2 separate regions of the Homo sapiens genome follow, and region 1 is linked to region 2. The links are contacts of gene promoters, found by promoter capture Hi-C in human tissues and cell types (Jung and others, 2019). All regions are on one chromosome and are shown on one strand. The core of a region is centred on a gene start or on the middle of the fragment in contact, and the rest is flanking DNA. Distances in the headings are between cores, read along the strand shown.

Evidence for each region. The method cuts DNA at HindIII sites, captures the fragments that hold promoters and counts their contacts. A contact is called where the count stands out against the background at its distance.
Region 1: a fragment that was not itself captured here is called in contact with the fragment with the promoter of C1QL4 in region 2 in 1 of the 25 tissues and cell types used here (lymphoblastoid cells).

Annotation. Positions count from the first base shown.
Region 1 is chr12:49,856,550-49,859,249 of GRCh38, forward strand. No RefSeq gene overlaps it. Among named protein-coding and RNA genes, the nearest start is that of BCDIN3D, 15 kb to the left of the region's middle. The HindIII fragment of the contact is 5,384 bases long and covers 1-2,700 here.
Region 2 is chr12:49,335,745-49,338,444 of GRCh38, forward strand. C1QL4 (complement C1q like 4) reads right to left here and starts at 1,444. Exons shown (of 2, transcript NM_001008223.2): 1 at 197-1,444. The coding sequence starts at 733. RefSeq lists an enhancer at 40-839 and a silencer at 1,208-1,617. The HindIII fragment of the contact is 14,355 bases long and covers 1-2,700 here.

The DNA.
Region 1 (2,700 bases), core at 158-2,657, 520 kb after region 2:
TCTTTCTTTTGGGTATATACCTAGTAGTGGGATTGGTGAATCATAAGGTAGCTCTACTTTTAGTTTTTTGGGGGCCCTCCAGACTGTTCTCCATAGTGGTTGTAGTAATTTACATTCCCACCCACAGAGTATGAGGGTTCCCTTTTCTCCACATCCTCACCAGCATGCGTTATTGCCCATCTTTCCGATGAAAGCCATTTTAACTAGGATGAGATGATATCTCATTGTAGTTTTGATTTGCATATCTCTGGTGATCAATGATGTTGAGCACCTTTTCATATACCTGTTTGCCATTGTATGTTTTCTTTTGAGAAATGTCTATTCAGATCTTTTGTCCATTTTTAATTGGATTACTAGATTTTTTTCCTATTGAGGTATTTGAGCTCCTTATATATTCTGGTTATTAATCCCTTGTCAGATGGATCGTCTGCAACTATTTTTTCTCCCATTCTGTGGGTTGTTTCTTCACTTTGTTGATCGTTCCCTTTGCTGTGCAGAAGCTTTTTAACTTGATGTGATCCCATTTGTCCATTTTTGCTTTGGTTGCCTGTGCTTGTGGGGTATTACTCAAGAAATCTTTGCCCAGCCCAATGTGCCGGAGAGTTTCCCCAGTGTTTTCCTTTAGTAGTTTCATAGTTTGAGGTCTTAGATTTAAGACTTCAATCGATTTTGATTTGATTTTTGTATATGTTGAGAGATGGAGGCCTAGTTTCATTCTTCTGCATATGGATATTCAGTTTCCCAGCATCATTTATTGAAGAGAATGTCCATTCCCTAATGTATATTCTAGGCAACTTTGTTGAAAATGAGTTCACTGTAGATGTATGGATTTATTTCTGGGTTTTCTTTTCTGTTCCATTGGTCTATGTATCTGTTTTTATACCAGTACCATGCCGTTTTGGTTACTATAATGGCTCTGTAGTATAATTTGAAGTCAAATAATGTGATTCCTCCAGTTTTGTTTTTTGCTCAGGATAGCTTTGCCTAACTAACATTTTAATATATATCCATCTAGGGTTTTTTCTATTCATAAGTAAACATAAAATGTGTGTGCATATATATATTTTAATCAACATTAAACAAATTAAGTAGTTTTAATATTACTCAAATATTACAACTGTGAGTATAGCCTCCTTTGGAGATGCCACCAGAAGCCTACATTTCGGAACGTTTTTGAGGAAAACAGGCCATTTAGTTTGCAGAATATCCTTCAATTTGTTTTTTTTTGTTGTTGTTGGGTTTTTTTTGAGACAGAGTCTCACTCTGTCGCCCAGGCTGGAGTGCAGTGGCGTGATCTCGGCTCACTGCAACCTCCGCCTCCCAGGTTCAAGCAATTCTCATGTTTCAGCTTTCCGAGTAGCTGGGACTGCAGGCATGTGCCACTATGCCCAGCTAATTTTTGTACTTTCAGTAGAGATGGAGTTTCACCGTGTTGCCCAGGCTGGTCTCGAGCTCCTGACCTCGAGCTTCTGACCTCAAGTGATCCACCTGCCTCAGCCTCCCAAAGTGCTGGTATTACAGGTGTGAGCCGCTGCACCACCCTCAATTTGGTTTTGTCTAATATTTCTTCATGATAAGATTCAGGCTTTGCTTCTTCTTTTCTTTCTTTCTTTTTTTCTTTCTTTCTTTCTTTTTTTTTTTTTTGAAATAGAGTCTCACTCTGTCGCCCAGGCTGGAGTGCAGTGGCATAGACTTGGCTCACTGCAGCCTTCACTGCCTGGGCTCAAGCAATCCTCCTGCCTTGGCCTCCCAAAGTGCTAGGATTACAGATGTGAGACATCCTGCCAGCCGGCTTTGCATTTTTTTGGCAGAAGTGTTATAAAGTATATTTTTGTCCTTCTCAGCACATCATATCAGAAAACACATAGTGTCAATTTGTGCCATTATTTGTGATTCATGATTAAGTTGGAACCTAACAGTTTTCTCTAATGTAGTGTTATCATTTTTTCCTTTGTAACTTTTTTTTTAGACAGGGTCTCGCTCTGCCCAGGCTGGAGTGCAGTGGTATGATCTCGGCTCTCTGCAACCTCTGCCTCCTAGGCTCCAATAATCCTCCCACCTCAGCCTCCCAAGTAGCTAGGACTATAGGCATGTGCTACTCAGCTAATTTGTGTATTTCTAATAGAGACAGAGTTTCACCATGTTGCATAGACTGGTCTTGAATTCCTGGACTCAAGCGATCCACCCACTTCAGTCTTCCAAAGTGCTGGGATTACAGGTGTAAGCCACTGTGCCAGACCTCTCCTTTGTAATTTAAAAGTAATCTGTGAACAAAAAGCAATCTATGCACATGAAAAGATACTAAGCATCACTACTCGTTAGGGAATGCAAACTCAAACCATAATGAGATACCAATTCACATCCACAAATAGGGCTAAAATTTAAAAGACAGACATCAACAAGTTGGCAAGGATGTGGGGAAATTGGAACCCCTCATCCATTGCTGATGGGATATAAAATGGTGCAGCCTCTTCGAAAAACAACTTGGCAGTTCCTCAAAAAGTTAAACATAGGTACATATGACACAGCAATGCTTCTCCTAGGTGTGAAAACACATCCCCACAAAAAGCAGGAATGTTTATGGCAGTATTACTCATATAGACAAAGGTGAAAGCAAATGTCCATCAATTGATGAGTGGATACATAAAATGTGGTCTATTCATACAATAGAATATTATTTGGCAATAAAAAGGAATGAAG
Region 2 (2,700 bases), core at 194-2,693:
GCCCTAGGCAGAAGGTTTTCCTTCTCTGGCCCCCAATTTCCTCTGTGGGTAAATGAAGTCATCTATCGTTCTTGGCAGCCTCGCGTTCCTGGATTCAGTGACGCTGTTTCGGGGAATAATCTCAGGTTGTGGGATGAGTGCAGGGAGATCTAGAGAGCGACCAGTCTGAGCTGGGTTGGGGAGAGGGGCATCTCACCTGTCCGTTCTTCATGAGGTCGGCCCACATGCTGGTGCCGTCGCCGCCGCGCATGAGCACGTGGTAAGCGAAGAAGTAGACGCCTGGCATGGGGCAAGTAAACTTGCCGCTGGCTGCCTCGTAGGCGTTGCCCACGTTGGTCACCACGTCGTCGAAGCGCAGCACCTCGTAACCCTCGTGGGGCCGCCGCAGGCCCGCGTAGAAAGCAATGCGAGGCACGTAGCCGGCAGCGGGCGCCACCCCGCCCGGACCTGGACCGGGAGGGCCCGGGGGGCCTGGCCTGCCGGGTTCTCCTGGGGGCCCTCTTGGACCTGGTGGTCCAGGGGGCCCCCGCAGGCCTGCTTTCCCGCGCCGGCCCACCTCTCCCTTGGCGCCTGGCGGGAAGGGGGGCACGGAAGCAGGCGCGCCGTCGGGACCAGGGCCACGGGGCCCATGCGGGTCGCACACCATGCGGCAGCGACCCAGCATCTCGTAGTGCGCTGGCCCGCGGGAGCTGTGCACCAGCAGCGGGATGGCCACCAGCAGCAGCAGCACCATGGCCACTCCGACGGCCGCGCCCGCCACCCTCTTGCGGCGGCTCAGCCGCGACGCTGCCAGGGCCAGCAAATCTTCCTCACTCTTGGGCGCAATGGCTGCCGGGGCCGGGGCTCTCCGCGGGCCAGGAGGCGGTGACCCGCCTTGGGCCTGGGTCTGCACTCCCCCGACGGCTGCCCCCCGCTCCCCTTACCCTGCCTCTGCGGGCTCCAGCCGCGGCGGTGCCGCTCCCCAAGCCGTCCGTCAAGGGGAGGCCCCTCGTGGGTTACGTCAGGGGCAGCTCCCGACGGTCCAGAGCCAGTGGTCCTCTAGTACCCTCCCGTTCAGTCCTAACGATCCTGGGCACCTGAGATCCGCGGCTTCTCGGACGGCTGGTTTCTTAGGGATCTGAGATGCCTGCTCTCCAGACTGCTGCTCTCTCAGGGATGGCGCGGTGCCTGGGTCCCAGACTGCCCAGATAGACCACTCCCTGATGGAGAGGGGACTGCTCCCCGCGCTCCGGACGTCCCGGGCTCTGAGCTGCGGGTGCTGCTCACCGGGCGCGATCTCCTAGTAGGTTTTGCGCTCTGCCTCTTGGCAAGCACCGACTCACCTTGCTACCCCTGCCGCGGCCCCAGTCCCTGCTAGAGCCCTGGCCCGCGCCTCTCTCCTGCGGGCGCGGTCCCTCTCCGCCTCCCTAACCTTCCTCCCCTCCCTCCCGGGCGCGGGTGGTATGAGGCGCCGCGCGGCGGGAGCCACTATAAGCGGCCAGAGGCGGAGCGACCCCTGGTGCCCAGAGTGGGAAGTGCGGGGGCGGGGCAGGCAGCGGCCCCCACCCACGTCCTCCCCGCCTCCCCTCCACTCCCCCACTGCCCCTAGGTTCCTTCCCGGCTCTGAGCGGGTTCTTCAGGGTTTCGCGGCCCCCGCTGTATCTTTACTTTTACCCTTTACCCGGAGTTTGGCATTCTCAGAGGCCAGAGGAAACCCAAAACAGCGATGGGATAAAGAGGGGTCAAGATACAAACACGCAGAGAAGACAGGGGTAGATTCCCGAGCTAAAATGAGGGGGAGGGACCTCACAAACAAACAGAAAACAAAATAAGAAGGGCTAGAAAAGATAGAAATTCACCACCCCACGCACCTCAGCGCCCGTGACCGAATAACATGGTAAAGGATTCAACTGATACTAGTTGGCCTGAACTGGAAAAGGCAAATCTCTAGCCAACCCTACCCCCACCCCTCAGTATTGGGGCGCGGAGCGGAGTGTGTGTGTGTGTGTGTGTGTGTGTGTGTGTGTGTGTGTTTGTGTGGAGAGAGAGAGAGAGAGAGAGAGAGAGAGAAAATAAGAGAACAGATCAGCCCGGGGGAGCAAGCAAGAAACCGACAAGAAAGCAGAGAAGGAGCGACAGAAATCAAAGAGAAGGAAAGCTAGATAGAGATGCAGAGACAGAGACAAAGCTTCGAAAAGAGACGGACTGACAGCCCCAGAGGGGGAGAGGGAGAGACAGAGACAGAGGAAGAGAGACAGAGCCGGGACAGGTTGACAGATCGAGAGAGAAATGTAAATGGCGCGCTGCAGAGAGACACCCAGGTCCGTGTTTGGACTCCAATGTGACATATCAACTGTGGGGAAGATGCGGGGGCAGGGCGGCTCTGCCAGCAGTGCTAGGCTCTGGGCCTGTGCATTGTGACAGTGTGCTCCAAAGTGTGGAGGTGGCCATGGGATCCTGGCCCTGTGTGTCCCTGGGTGAGTGCGATTGTGGATTGTGTGTTGTCTTTGTGTATGTATATGTGAGGGCTGTTTGAAGGGAGGTATTTGTATTTGTCTTCCTCCTAGTCCCTCAATTTGGAGCCCACAAATGCCATTTTTCCTACCTTGGGACTGAGAATGAAGGACTCTACTGGACAGAGAGGAAGTCAGAAGACAGCTGTCTTCTCATTTGCCCTGCCCAGCTCAGCCCAATGCCACCCCTGCCCTGGTCCCAGACTTA